2 separate regions of the Homo sapiens genome follow, and region 2 is linked to region 1. Evidence: promoter capture Hi-C in 16 types of primary human blood cells and fetal thymus (Javierre and others, 2016). All regions are on one chromosome and are shown on one strand. Each heading gives the region's core, a stretch centred on a gene start or on the middle of the fragment in contact. The rest is flanking DNA. Distances are from core to core; before and after follow the strand shown.

Region 1 (7,504 bases), core at 2,176-4,675:
AATGCTGTCTAGTTTGTGAGGGATTTTGATTTCCTGGGACTTGGAGAGAATGCATGGGAACTGGGGTGCACTGTGGAGATAATGGGAATACTAGAGTGGAGAGGCCAATGGGGTAAAAGAGGTACGGGCATGGGGTACAGAGCAAAAGGAGTAAAGGAACATCATAGATGGAGGCCATTGGAGAAACCATGGCATCAGGAAAAACCCAGAGGCCAATCTTGTGTGGAGTCCAAATACAGATGCCATATATATATATATATATATATTTGTTTTTATTTTTTATTCTTTTTTTTCATTTTTTTGAGACAGAGTCCTGCTCTATCATCCAGGCTGGAGTGGAATGGCGCGATCTCAGCTCACTGCAGCCTCCGCCTCCCAGGTTCAAGCAATTCTCCTGCCTCAGCCTCCCAGGTCGCTGGGATTGCAGGCCTGCACCACCATCCCTGGCTGATTTTTATATTTTTTGGTAGGGATGGGGTTTCACCATGTTGGCCAGGCTGGTCGCAAACTCCTGAGCTCAACTGACCTACCAGCCACGGCCTCCCAAAATGCTGGGATGACAGGCGTGAGCCGTGGCGCCCAGCCTACATTTTATTTATTTATTTATTTATTTATTTATTTATTTATTTATTTATTGAGTCAGAGACTTGCTCTGTCTCCCAGGCTGAAGTGCAATGGCGCGATTGCAGCTCACTGCAACCTCCATCTCCTGGGTTCAAGTGATTCTCCTCCCTCAGTCTCCCAAGTAGCCGGGATTACAGGCACCCGGCACCATGCCCAGTTAATTTTTCTATTTTTGTAGAGACAGGGTTTCACCATGTTGGCCGGGCTGGTCTTGAACTTCTGACCTCAGATGATTGGCCCACCTCAGCCTCCCAAAGTGCTGGGATTACAGGCATGAGCCACCACGCCTGGACTTTTTTTTTTTTTTTTTTTTTAATGGAAATGAGGTCTCATTATGTTGTCCAGGCTGGTCTTGAACTCCTGGGCTCAAGTGGTCCTCTCACCTCAGCCTCCCAAAGTGCTGCGATTACAGGTATGAGACACAGCCCCAGCCCTATTTGTATTATTTATTTTGAGACAAAATAAATATATCTTAGGATGAACTCTGTCACCCAGGCTGGAGGGTAGCGTCGCAATCATGGCTCACGGCAGCCTCCACCTCCCGGGTTCAAGCGATCGTCCCACCTCAGCCTCTGGAGTAGCTGGGACTCTAGGCACATGCCACTACACCTGGCTAATTTTTGTACTTTTTGTAGAGACGAGGTTTTACCATGTGCCTAGGCCAGTCTCAAACCCCTGAGTTCAAGCGATCCACCAGCCTTGGCCTCCCAAAGTTCTGGGATTACAGGCGTGAGCCACTGCACCTGGCCCAGACTTCTGTCTTAACTACTTTCCCTTTTCTTTCCCTCAGTGAGCTCTGGCTCCAAAGAGTCTCTAGGTATTGAAGAGCTCTTCACATGCATGCACCCCTGCCCACCCCCAGGAAACATGCCTGTGCAGTTTTCCATTTTAAGTACTTACACAAGCTCCCTAGCTCTGGGGAAAGAAGTAAGGGAAATTAACCACTTATTGAGACCTGAGTCTGTGCCAGTCTCCATTATATTTTCTTCCTCAAATATACCTCACTGACTCATGGGTCCTGTGGTCCTGGACCTGTGCAGGTAACATGGCAGGGTATTGTCTCAGATTATGAAGTGAAAAGGGTAGAAGGTGTTGAATCTTTTCTCTCTTTCTCCTTACCCTTCTTAATCTTCCCTCTCCCACTCCCCATCACCCGCCTTCCCACCACTTAATTTCTCTTGTTTGTTCACCCTAAGATATATATTTCTGGGACTCTTGGTTTAGGGATGCTCTTAAGAAGTCCCACACTAGGGAGATGCAAACATGTCCTACCTCCAGTGAGTTCCATGATCAGCTTGCTGGATTTCCTCTTCTTATTAGGGGCCGGGGTTCCTGAGAGCGGCATTGTGGAGGTGGATTCAGCCTGGACAGGGTGGGAAGGAGGAGTTGGTGGATGGACAGGGACTGGGAAGAGTGAGTGTCTGTAGGAGAGCAGCACTTCTTAACCTGGGTTTAAGGGCTTGAGGGGACAAAAAAATTTTTTTTTCTTTTTTAGAGACAGGATCTCACTCTGTCGCCCAGGCTGGAGTGCAATGGCACAATCATGCCTCACTGCAGCCTCAACCTCCCTGGGCTCAGGTGATCCTCCAACTTCAGCCTCCCAAGTAGCTGGGACTATAGGTGCGCACCACCGTGCCTGGCTAATTTTTGTATTTTTTGTAGAAATGTGGTTTTGCCATGTTGCCCAGGCTGGTCTCAAACTCCTGGGCTCAAGCAGTCCTCCTGCCTCCCAAAGTGCTGAGATTACAGGGGTGAGCCACTTCACCTGACCCAGATTTTCAAAGAAGCATGTATTTCCCCAAAAGGTGAAAACTTGCGCTTTAGGGCTTCTCTTTTCTTGGGATACAGGACAGGAAGTATAGATGCACACCAGCCCCTGTTGTCTACCAACCTGTTGTGAGCTGTTTTTCATAGAGTCAGTGCAGGAATTAGGAACATAGCTAGGTGTGGGGAGTGTTTAAAAAACAATAACACAAGCAGGGCAATGCACCCAGGTTTCATTGGCTTGGCATGATTTGAAGTTTTTATTTGCACTGGGATATCAGACTGGGGCTGTGATTCCAGGCTCTGGTCTCTCCTCAGTCTTCCCCCAGTCCCCAGGAGGACAGAGAAATATTCTGCCAGGGTTGAGGAGATTCAGCCAAAAACACTCTCCATAGGAAGGAGAGGTTGTTGCTCCTTCATCAGGCCAGCTGGAACATGGCCTGGGAAGTCATGGCCCTGCTCCTGCAATCACTCCCGCCACAGACCCCAGAGTGGAGGCAGGTGTGGAACTGGGAAGGGTAGGGAGCATTCAAATCCCGACACGTCAATTCAGCAATATCATAGCAGTGGGGAATTGAGGTGGGGCAGAAACATAGTAATAGGATCTGGCAATGGAAAGGGACAAACTGGGATAAGATGGACTCCAATCCCTTCTTAAGAGAAGTTGGCACTCAGTGAAATGCTGTCCTCTTCTAAGTCCTGTCTCAAAAAATACATCTGCAACTCTACTGACTTAGTGGGGTCTCCCTTCCCATTCTTCCAGTGCCTCCCCCGACATCTCCATTCCCCCCAACCTCCTGGGCCCCTCTCCTTCCAACTCTCCTTCCCCTCTCCTTCCAACTGGACAGCTGGGAGCTGAGCATAGATGAGGAGAGGGGAGACTCCCCCAGGATCAAGAATCACAATTGTAGACACAGACACAGAAGTCAACACAGTGGGCTCCAGCCTTTCTAACGATAGAGCTGGAGACTTACCGGCTGCTCGGGCAGTGGTCAGCTCTCCCTGGGGTCCAGCAGCTTTGGAGGACTGAGCTGCTGTGACCGGAGAACACGAGCTGGGCAGGCGTGGGGGCAGCACTGGCAGTGGGGGAGGGAAGTTGGTTATTAATAGAGATGATGAGCGCAAGCAGCTCAAATGGCACAGGGGGTACTGAGACCCTGGAACCAAGATCCCTCCCTCCTTGCCCGGAGGCTCAGGAAGGAGGGAAAAGGCCTTTGGGATTCTCCCACTGAACTGTCTGAGCCAGGGATCAGTCTGCCCAGGGACTCCCCTTCACATTGCACCTAGAGCCTGAGATCCAAAGAAGCACTTAGGGAGAAACTGAAGACTGAGAGGGAGACAGGAAGTAGACAGCAAGTATTGGATAGGAATTCAGTCAGAGAGAGAGAGTCTGGGGAACATGCCCTGAGGGCCACACAGAGCCAATCCAGGGCAGAGTGGAGAGACCTGTGGGTGTATTTGGAGCAGGGAGGGCTTAAAGTGCTATATTTGGGGACAAAAAGGGAAGTCTTCACAGTGGAACTGCTCTTTTAAAGTTCCTGGATAGGTTGGTCTTTTCTCGGTAAGGGCTAGATCTTGGCAGGTTAAGGGACCAAATTAACTAAACCCAGTACCTCCTACAAAGGAATGATGTGGGGAAGACTTGACAATTATTCTGTCTGCCTCACTCCCTATTCTTTCCTCTTGAGCTCTGGCAGTTTTAATAAAAGACAAACACTTGGATCTGCATTTTTTTTTTTTTTTTTTTGAGATGGAGTTTCGCTCTTTTTGCCCAGGCTGGAGTGCAGTGGTGCGATCTCGGCTCACTGCAACCTCCACCTCCTGGGTTCAAGCAATTCTCCTGCCTCAGCCTACTGAGTAGCTGGGATTACAGGTGTCCACCACCATGCCCGGCTAATTGTTGTATTTTTAGTAGAGACGGGGTTTCACCACGTTGGCCAGGCTGGTCTCAAACTCCTGACCTCAGGTGATCCACCCACATTGGCCTCGCAAAATGTTGGAATTACAGGCGTGAGCCACCGCCAGGATCTGGTCTCTAAGGAGTTATTCTCTAGCCACCACGCCCAGCCAGGATCTGCCTTTTAACCTCCATTTGCTGTTGAGATGCTCAGTTCAACCTGCTGTGCGGGATAGACATCGATGTCTCCCTGAGAAGCACATATAGGCTCTCTGAGGTTTCTTTTCTTCTTCTTTTTTTTTTTTTTTTTTGAGACGGAGTCTCGCTCTGTTGCCCAGGCTGGAGTGCAGTGGCGCAATCTCGGCTCACTGCAAGCTCCACCTCCCAGGTTCACGCCATTCTCCTGCCTCAGCCTCCCGAGTAGCTGGGACTACAGGCGCCCACCAACACGCCCGGCTAAATTTTTTTTTGTATTTTTAGTAGAGATGGGGTTTCACCGTGTTAGCCAGGATAGTCTCGATCTCCTGACCTCGTGATCCATCCATCTCAGCCTCCCGAAGTGCTGGGATTACAGGCTCTCTGAGGTTTCTACTTGAGATTTCCTGCAAAGGGAGCACATACCACATAGGATCTGGACTGTGCCATTTGTACTGTTCCAGCGGAGTCTCTGGGCAGGGCCACAGGCTTGAAAGCCCCTTTGGGGAAAGCCTATCATTTCCCCAGGCCCTTCTTCAGTAGCTGCATGATCTTCCTCCACCTTCTGCTTAGATTCTGGAACCAGTTGCTGCAGCACTTCTGCTGCAGCCACCACAACCCTGTTGCTGCTACCTGAGGAAGTGGCTTTATTTATTTATTTATTTATTTGAGACAGGGTCTCACTCTGTTGCCTGTGCTGAAGTGCAGTGGCACAATTTTGGCTCACTGCAACCTCAGCCTCCCCAGGCTCAGGTAATCCTTCGACCTCAGCCTCCCAGGTAGCTAGGGCTGCTGGTACATGCCACCACGCCCAGCTAATTTTCATATGTTTTGTAGAGACAGGGTTTCACTATGTTTCCCAGGCTGGTCTCAAACACCTGGGCTCAAGCAATCCTCCTGTCTTAGCCTCCCAAAGTGCTAGGATTATAGGCGTGAGCCACTGTGCCTAGCTGGCTTTTTAAAAAATTATTTCTTTCTTTATTTTAGAGATGGGGGTCTCACTATGTTGCCCAGGCTGGACTTGAACACCTGGGCACAAGTGATCCTCCTACCTCAGCCTCTGAGTAGCTGGGACTACAGGCACGCACCAGGAAGTGGCTTTTGTAACTTCCTTTGTCCCCTTCTGAGCTCTTTACTCTTCCTGACCATGTCCTTTTTCCATCCTGTGGAGACCCTAAAAGGTATCCCCTCACAGTTGGCTTCTGCCCAGGCTAGTTATGCCTCCAGACCCCTCATCTTTTGTCCTCCTCCATCCCCTCCCAACCCAAGGAAGCAATTAGAAGATAAAATAGGCCGGGCGTGGTGGCTCATGCCTGTAATCACAGCACTTTGGGAGGCCGAGGTGGGTGGATCACTTGAGGTCAGGAGTTCAAGACCAGCCTGGCCAACATGGTGAAACCCAGTCTCTACTAAAAATACAAAAACTAGTCAGGCATGGCGGTGCGTGCCTGTAATCCCAGCTACTTGGGAGGCTGAGGCAGGAGAATCACTTGAACCCAGGAGGCAGAGGTTGCAGTGAGCTGAGATCGCACCACTGCACTCCAGCCTGAGCCACAGAGGGAGACTCCATCTCAAAAAAAAAGAAGAACTATAAATAGCTAAAGGTGACTTCATCATCACTACCACCCTCACCCTCAAAAACAAAAACAAACTGAAAGTTTGATCTCCTTCAACTGAGTACCCAAAACGACTGAGTGGGTGAAGACAGGCTATTTAACCTATGGTCTCTGAGATCTTTTTTTGGAATTCTAAGACAGTGCACTTGGAAGAGTCTGCGGCCTGGGTCTGATTATTGGCACAAATGTGCCCTCTGCTGGCAGAATCAGAGCAATGGCACTTTCCTTCTCTGAAGTCTAATTCTCACCTACCTCCAACGCCCTCCCTTCTTTAGTAGTCTCAATTCAGCTTTATTCTTCCCTCTCCCATCCCACCTTCCCCTCCAGCCCTCCAGCCATTGCTTTCTCTTCATTTACTTCCCAGAGACTGTTTAATATGGTTGCTTCCTCTAAGGAGCGAGGAAATGTTGATAGCAAAGGGCTCAGAGGGCCTTTCCAACTTCTCTGAGTTCTGTGAACTGAAGCCTTACCTAGAAAGTATGAGGCAAGGGAGGGAAAGGGGAGAACTTGGATGAAGACTGTGGGGAGAGGGAACCAAGAAGAGTGATGGAGGTGGCTAAATCAAAGCAGGACAGAATTTGTATAAAAGAGCAAAAGACCTGGGAACAAAGGGCAAAAGGATGAAAAATGGGAGGGCAGGAAAAGAGACAGATCAGAAATCAGATCAGGGGAATGGGTTAAAGAAGATTAAGGAGAGATCAGGATTTAGGAATAAAACTAGAAGATAACAGCAACAGAAGGTATGGGGCATAAATTTATTCTTGTGCACAAACCAAAGTATTGTGACTCACACCCAACAAGCAAAGGAAATTATCACTTTCCAGATTACACAGCAAACGTAGCTGGTGGTGGTCTTGGTGAGAAGGGAGTCCATACTAAGATTGGAGATCAGGACCTGAAGCTGAAAAGAAGCAATAGCTGGGGTTTTGAGGGATGGGGTGGGACTGAAAGGAGGTTTTGGCTCTGGGTATTTCCCTACTCTTTCCCAGGCAGTCATGGCAAGCTGCAGAAGACACACTGAAGAACAGACTCAAGGAAAATCACACAGACACCAACCGTTCTTTCAACACTCAGCACACACCCTCACACCTCCCTTCCACCATCATTCCCTTCCATTCTAACATTCTTCTCCCTCAAATTTTTTTCCAATCCCCCTCTCACACACGGTTGGTTTCTTGTTACTCAACTTTACCTTCTCCCAATATGGCATTGTCCCTCGCCACACTTCTGTCTGTGGCTCAATCACTTACACTCATTTCTGCCATGCTTCTGATTTTGGCCTCACTTGCCACACTCTGGCTCTCTTCTCCTTTCTCTCAAGCTCATGAGGCAATGAAGCCAATGATTTGTTCATTCTCGGAGGGAATTTTCTTTCTTTTTTTCATTTCCTGGGTACTGGGTTGCTCAG
Region 2 (7,504 bases), core at 1,836-4,335, 280 kb before region 1:
TATTCCATCATAACCAATACCAGGGAAAACCTAAGGAAATGCCATAGTCCAGCACTGTTTTATTCCCCATATCCAACCTTTGCTGTTGGACAGGCAGTGCTTTAGGGAGCTGGTCACAAGGATGATTTCACTGGTAGCGCTAAAGATGTTTATACAGGTAACTAACCCATTAAGCACAAAGTATCACAAGACAAAGTAGGAACACCTTGACCTCCCATACCCTACATCAGGGGTCCCCACCCCGAACCATGAACCAGTACCAGCCCGTGGCCTGTCAGGAACTGGGCTGTACAGCAGGAGGTAAGCAGCAGGCGAGCAAGCAAAGCTTCATCTCTATTTACAGCCACTCTGCATCACCTGCATTACCACCTAAGCTCTCTCTCCTGTCAGATCAGTGGCAGCATTATATTCTCACAGGAGTGCGAACCCTATTGTAACTGATGCATGCAAAGGATCTAGGTTGTGCACTCCTTATAAGAATCGAATGCCTGATTTGTCACTGTCTCCCATCACCCCCAGATAGGACTGTCTAGCTGCAGGAAAACAAGCTCAGGGCTCCCACTGATTCTACATTATGGTGAGTTGTATAATATTTCATTATATAGGCTAGGCACGGTGGCTCACGCCTGTAATCCCAACACTTTGGAAGGCGAGGCGGGCGGATCACCAAGTCAGGAGTTCGAGATCAGCCTGTCCAATACGGTGAAACCCCATCTCTACTAAAAAATTCAAAAATTAGCCAGGTGTGATGGCACATGCCTGTAAGTCCCAGCTACTTGGGAGGCTGAGGCAGGAGAATCGCTTGAACACGGCAGGCAGAGGTTGCAGTGAGCTGAGATCACACCACTGAACTCCAGCCTGGGCAAAAGAGTGACTCCGTCTCAAAACAAAAAAATTTCATTATATATTACCGTGTAATACTAATAGAAATAAAGTGCACAGTAAATGTAATGTGGTTGAATCATCCCCGCTGCCCCCAGTCTGTGGAAAAATTGTCTTCCACGAAACTGGTCCCTGGTGCCAAAAAGGTTGGGGACTGCTGCCATACACTGTTCACAGTGTTCTCTGGTAACCGTTTTTTTTAATCTGCAAAGCTCCCTTCAAACATTATTTAACTTCTCAGTTTTACAAAAATATATTTTGAGAGCAGGAAAGAAGCAGCCACACAAAATGGTAGTCCACTGGAAAAGGTCTTAATGTATTTCTTATTTAGTCAGATATACTGTCAATTTTACAATACTAAGGGCACAAACAATTTCGATAATAAATTGGATATTTGTTTTTTGGAAAAGGTCTTTTATCTCTCCTTCCTTCCTTTTTTTTTTTTTCAGGCTCTCATTCTGTCACCCAGGCTGGAGTGCAGTGGTGTGATCACAGCTCACTGCAGCTTCAACCTCCCAGGCTCAAGTGATTGTCCCACCTCAGCCTCCTGAGTAGCTGGGACTACAGGCATGCGCCACCACGCCCAGCTAATTTTTGTATTTTTTGTAGAGACAGGGTTTCACCATGCTGTCTAGGCTGGTCTCGACGGCTAGGCTCAAGCAATCCACTCACCTCAGCCTCCCAAAGTGCTGGGATTAAAAGGCATGAGCCACTGTGCCTGTTGAAAAGGCCTTATTTTCTAACTCAATTCAAACATTTACTGAGGACATACTATGCTAAGTGTACTTGGTGATACAAAAGAGAAAACAACATCTTACAGCCTTCAGACTTTATAATTATCCTGCCTCTTCTCAGCTACTCCAGCATTTTTCCAGTCACCTAAAAGTGTCAAATCATTTGTTCAACAACATATTTCTGGGCTCTTTAAGGGCTTTAGTGGCACTGACAACTTCTTTGTCAAATGTACATTTGAAATGCCCTTTTGTATCAGTCTTCTTTCCTTTTCAATAATATGGCATTAGGCCTTCATTACCCTTCTGCTAGACTGTAACAAAAGCCTCCTAACTGGTGTCTCTGACTCCAGTTTCTCACTCTAATTCATCCTGCTTTTGTCAGAATTGCTCATTGAAAAAACTTGTTAAGCTTGGCACTGTGATGGGTGCTGAGGATACAAGAGATAAGATGTGAACTCTCTAACCTCAAGAAATTTAAAATCTAGTGAGGACGAGAGACGTGTAACTAGACCAGGAGTCATAATCTGTGAGACAGGTGCTCTGACAGAGGAAAGAAGGGAGGAGTGAAACACACAGGGAGGAAAAGGGGGGTGGAAATTTATTTTTTCTTTTACAAATAAAAAGAATGAGAGAAGCAAGGAAATTAACTGATTATAGCCAGTGTGCCAAGTGTGCTTCGCATTTATTATCTTAAATGTAGCCTCCCTTCTAAGAGATTCTTAAATCTCTATTTGATTGAAAAAAATTGAGCTTCAGAGAAGTTTGTTATCTTACCAGCAGTCATACAGCAAGGAAGTGCTGAATGAAGCTGGGACCTAGCTGGATTTGAGAATACATATGCATGCCAGGAAAATCTTGGAGGAAGTACGCTGGAACTATGTCTTAATAAAGGGAAGGATATTCCAAGAAAGGGAACAGATTTTAAAACGTTCAGAGGCAAAACAACACACATAGCAAGTAGCAAGTAGCTTGCAGTGGTGGAGTAAGAAGAAATAGGGAGAAAATGAGAAGAGACAAGCAGATAAATACCTTATTAAAGTACAGATCTGATCGTATCACTGTCTTGTTCCCTCTCACCTACCAAATAAACTGTAACACTACAGTTTAACTGTAGTTAAATGTAGTACTACATTCAGGGCTTTCTAGGATCTTGCAGTGCCAGTCAACTCCCCTCTTCTAGCTTATGCTCTTGCTTAGTATTTTTCAAAGATTACCTGCATTTAGTCGCTTTTGAACCTTTGCATTTTTCCTTCCCCCTGGAATTATCTCTCCCTTTCTCCTCACTCCGTCTCTACAGCAAATCCTACTCATCCTTTAAAATCCAGCTCAAATGCTTCCTAGTCCATGAAGCTTCCCAGTCGGAAAAACTTGCCTTTCCTCTGAATTCATTTAGCACTTTACACGTCTTTTGTGGCATTACCACAAGCTGTCCTGTTTATGAAGACTGGGTATTCAAAAGACCTTTCCTACTTAACAACTATGTGCCCCTAGGCAAATGCCTAACTTCTCTAAGCCTCAGTTTCACCTTCTGTAAAATGGATAACTTCCAACCTGTTTCACATTTATTGTGAATATCCCCTAAGATATTAAAGCTTTTTAAGTATGAAGCACTGCACAAATGGTATTATTAATATGCAGCGTTTGTCCTGAGAGCTCATTTACACCCTTGAAGGCATGTAACCTGTCTCACGCATATTTACGGGCCCAGAGTGCCTGGCACCATGTCTTGTACACAACAGGCGTTCGCGTCGTGTTTGAATTATGAATGCAAGATATAGGACTAAAGTTATAGTCAGGGCAGCTAGGGTGGGGACTCTTGTTGCCCCCGGCAAGGCACGCATTTCTTGTCATCTGCTCGGAAGAAGCTGCAAGGGGAGAGTCCAGTGAGAAAAAGGTTAGACGAAGGAGGCGATGTGACTGAGTCTGGTCTGGGGACAAGCGCAGTCAGCGCAGAATGAGGAGGCCTCCGACGAGAAGCGGTAAAGGAAGGTCTACGTCCGCGCTCCTGTGGAGGTCGCCGGGCTGGGGTTGGCGGCAGAGTCCGCACCTGGCCGGGCCAGCGGCTTTTCGGTCTAAATATCGGGGTTTTCAGCCTGGCCTTAGCTAAGGGAGCAGAAGATCGGGGTGACGGCTGTGGTGTGGCCGCAGGGCTGAGGTGGGGAGGCCGGGAAGAGAGAGTTTCTTCAGGAGGGATCACTGTCTTACCTGCAGCAGCCTCAGTTATGTTTTTGACAACTATAGCAACCAACTACCTCTCGCGAGAACTTACTTTTGGCCATCGCACGAGCAAGTTTATTCCAAGACTCGCGATAACCCTCTGGGGCCGGGAGCAGGGAGCGAGACGCTGAGCTTCTGCGCCTGCGCCCTAGCGCCGGCTGCAGCCTCCTCACTTCGAGAGCCTGCTGTTTCCGCGGATGCTTTACCTTGCCAAGAGTTGGGTTTAAGTGCATAGGTTTCCACCTTTACATTTTGCTTTCTCGACTCTTTGATTTCAATATTTCTCTATAATAGGAGGGAAAAAAGCAAAAGGAAGTTTAAAGAAAAAGGCCTTTATTAAACTGATTTGAAAACATCATTTAAATATTTCTCCGTGAAATATGCAATATTTTTTAAATGAGCCCGTCACGCCCTGTTGATGAGAGTGCAAAATGACCCTGCTTCTAGGTGCTCAATATTTGTACAATAAACAGACCTGAAGTTTATGATGTTAATACAAATTTTTAATATTCAAAATTTAACATTAAAGAGCTAGAATAGCAAAACACAATAGCAATAACCTGGAAACAACCCAAGTGCCCGTCGAAGGAATAGTGGATGAGTGGACCAATAAACTGTGGCATATTCACAAAATGGCATATTACAAGCAGTCAAAGTTAATGAACTGCAGCCATACACACAACACGGATGAATTTTAGCAGTATATATACTTTAAATTGTTGCAGTGTTAAGAGCCAGCTTGAAGGGACTCCCATGGGCCAAATAAGGGACAATTTGAGCATGAAGTAAACAACGACGATAACGGATTACAACCCATTGAATAAAATAGGAATATGCAAGTCCGTGTTGATACAGAGAAAAAGGAAAACTCTTTCAAAGTAGGATGCCAACCCAGAAGTGTAGCGAGAAGGATGGAAATAGAGAACTACCATTTGACAACTACTGAGGAGGATGACTCAGGCAGGAGTCTTCAATGGACGCTAAGGCTGGTGGGTAGATGTTCTATGAGGCATAGAATACTGGCGTGATTTTGGAATGCTTCCATGGAATACTACTTGATTACAGAGGGGGAAACAGTGAATGGACGCAACCAACATGATCAGGTGATCATGGTTAACATCACCAGTGTTGGGAGGAGTCTACATTGTGAGCCTCCTGGTGAAACACACTAAAAAAAAACACACACACACACACAAAGCATCCTTTTTGGTTTTCCTACCATGAAAGGAACTCAGGTTGTAGACCATCCAAGGACAAGAAAGACTGGGAACTGTCTCTGACTGAGGTTATATGACAACTAAATTCAATATGTATCTCTGTATAGCATTCTGGACCAGAAAGGAAAACAACATTGTTAGGACGGTGGGAAAAATGTGAATTAGCTCTGTGAATCGCATACCACCCCGAACATGCCCAATCTCATCTGAATTGGATGGTAGTGTTGTACCAATATTGATTTCCTGATGTGGAAGTTTGTTTGTTGTTAGGTAGGAGAGTGTCCCTGTTTAGGGGAAAATAAACACTAGTGTGTTTAGGAGTGATGAGACACCATCTCTTCAATTTGCTCTCTTGACTTTCAAAAGGTCCAGAAAAAGACTAACAAGGGATACATACACATGTACACACACATATGCACATGCATGCACACCTGCACACATACACACACAGTGAGCAATGGAACAAGTGCAATAAAGTGTTAACTATTTGGGAATCTGAGTGCAGGGGACATGGGACTTCCTTACACGATTTGGGCAACTTTTCTATACATTCGAGATCATTTCAAAACAATTAAAATATATACACACGCATAACCACTCTCCCTGGGAAGCCCTTTGCTTAGGAAATAGTTACCAGAGTCAAATTTTAAAATTTTTATTTATATGAATAAAGAAACATTATAAATATTGAGAAATATTTTTTGAAAGTTGCAGTGTTACAGGTAATAAAGGTTCTCAAAATAAAACTACTGTGGCACTACTGAGTAAGGATTTCTCTCTGGATTTTTTTTCCCAAGTGAGAGTTTTGGGTGAATTTGCACTGAGACAGCTATCCCACTTGCAAATGACAGACTCTTTCTACATAATAAGCTGGGTTAGGCCAAGTCTTTAATAGGGAGCTGTTCTTCCAGAAATCGCTCATGATCTTGGTCTACTTAGTACTTTGCTTCAAGGTCTTAGGCAAGCAAGGATAAATAACAGATGTCACCTCCTTAAACATAATTAATCTCCATTCAACTTTAGGGTACCTGAGAGCAAGGGCTGTATGTTACAATTTTCTTTTTTTTTTTTTTTAAGATGGAGTCTCACTCTGTAGCCCAGGCTGGAGTGCCGTGGCGCAATCTGGGTTCACTGCAACCTCCACCTCCTGTGGTCAAGTGATTCTTGTGCCTCAGCCACTGGAGTAGATGTGATTACAGGCACCCATCACCACGCCCGGCTAATTTTTGTATTTTTAGTAGAGACAGGGCCATGTTGGCCAGGCTGGTCTTGAACTCCTAACCTCAGGTGATCCACCTGTCTCAGCCGCCTAAAGTGCTGGGATTACAGGCATGAACCACCATGCCCGGCCTTTTTTTTTTTTTTTTTTTCTTTATTGAGACAGTCTTGCTCTGGAGTTCAGTGGCATGATATGATCTCGGCTCACTGCAACCTCTGCCTCCCGGGTTCAAGTGACCCTCCCACCTCAGCCTCCCGTGTGTGTGTGTGTTACAGTTCTTTTATTCTCCTACAGTGCTTAGCAGTGGCCACTCTGTTTGAAAGGCATTCTTTTTGACTGATTTAAAACATCCACTTGTGTATGGAAAAAGCCCTCTTTAGTGGTATGGAAAATATAATAGTACTGGAATCATAATAAAATCATCTACATATGCAAACCAATTTCAGGGAAAAAAACTATAAAAATATCTTTCTAATAAAATTTGAATGCCTTAGTCTGAGTTTCAAAGGCCTCCATTAAATGATGCACTAGCTCAACAAATTCCTTTCTCATTACTCCAAAAGACTTGTTTCTAATTAGCTAATTTGTTACTTCCAAAGTCAACATATTTCTGACAATAATACAATCAAATGTATTGCTCATCCCCAAATTGATCTACAGATTGAAAGCAATCACTATGAAAACCCCAACTGTTTTTTTTTTCTTTCAGAAATTAACAAGCTGATCTTAAAATTCATATGGAAATGCAAGGGACCCAGAGTAGCCAAAACAATCCTGAAACAGAAGAACAGTTGGAAAACTCACACTTCCCAATTTCAAAACTTTCTACAAAGCTGCAGTAATCAAGTAACGAAGACAGTAATAAAGACATAAAGATAGCCATATAGATCAAAATAATCAATTGAATTGAGAGTTCAGAAATAAACTCTTACATTTACGGTCAACTGATTTTTAACAAGAGTGCCAAGATGATCTACTGGGATGTGGGAGGGAGGGGGTAATATAGTCTTTTAAACAAATGGTACAAGGAAAAACAATGTCCACATGCAAAGAATGAAGTTGGACCCTTACCTCACACCATATACAAAAAATAACTCAAAATGGACCAAAGACCTAAATGTAAGAACTAAAACTATAAATTTGAGGGTTTTCTATTTCTGTGAAGAATGTCATTGCAATATTGATAGAGATTGTGTTGAATCTGTGGAGCACTTTGGGAAGTATGAACATTTTAA

Evidence for each region. Contacts are between HindIII fragments. The CHiCAGO score rates a contact against its expected background, and 5 or more counts as called.
Region 2: a contact is called between a fragment that was not itself captured here and the fragment with the promoter of MYOZ1 in region 1, in 2 of 17 cell types (naive CD8 T cells and fetal thymus). The highest score is 5.4, in naive CD8 T cells.

Annotation. Positions count from the first base shown.
Region 1 is chr10:73,638,049-73,645,552 of GRCh38, forward strand. MYOZ1 (myozenin 1) reads right to left here and starts at 3,426. Exons shown (of 6, transcript NM_021245.4): 1 at 3,363-3,426; 2 at 1,897-1,987. The coding sequence starts at 1,969. SYNPO2L (synaptopodin 2 like) reads right to left here. Exons shown (of 4, transcript NM_001114133.3): 4 at 6,838-7,504. RefSeq lists an enhancer at 6,050-6,099. The HindIII fragment of the contact is 20,057 bases long and covers 1-7,504 here.
Region 2 is chr10:73,354,893-73,362,396 of GRCh38, forward strand. CFAP70 (cilia and flagella associated protein 70) reads right to left here and starts at 3,972. Exons shown (of 28, transcript NM_001367801.1): 1 at 3,886-3,972. RefSeq lists enhancers at 3,115-3,640, 3,577-3,796, 3,641-4,166. The HindIII fragment of the contact is 242 bases long and covers 2,965-3,206 here.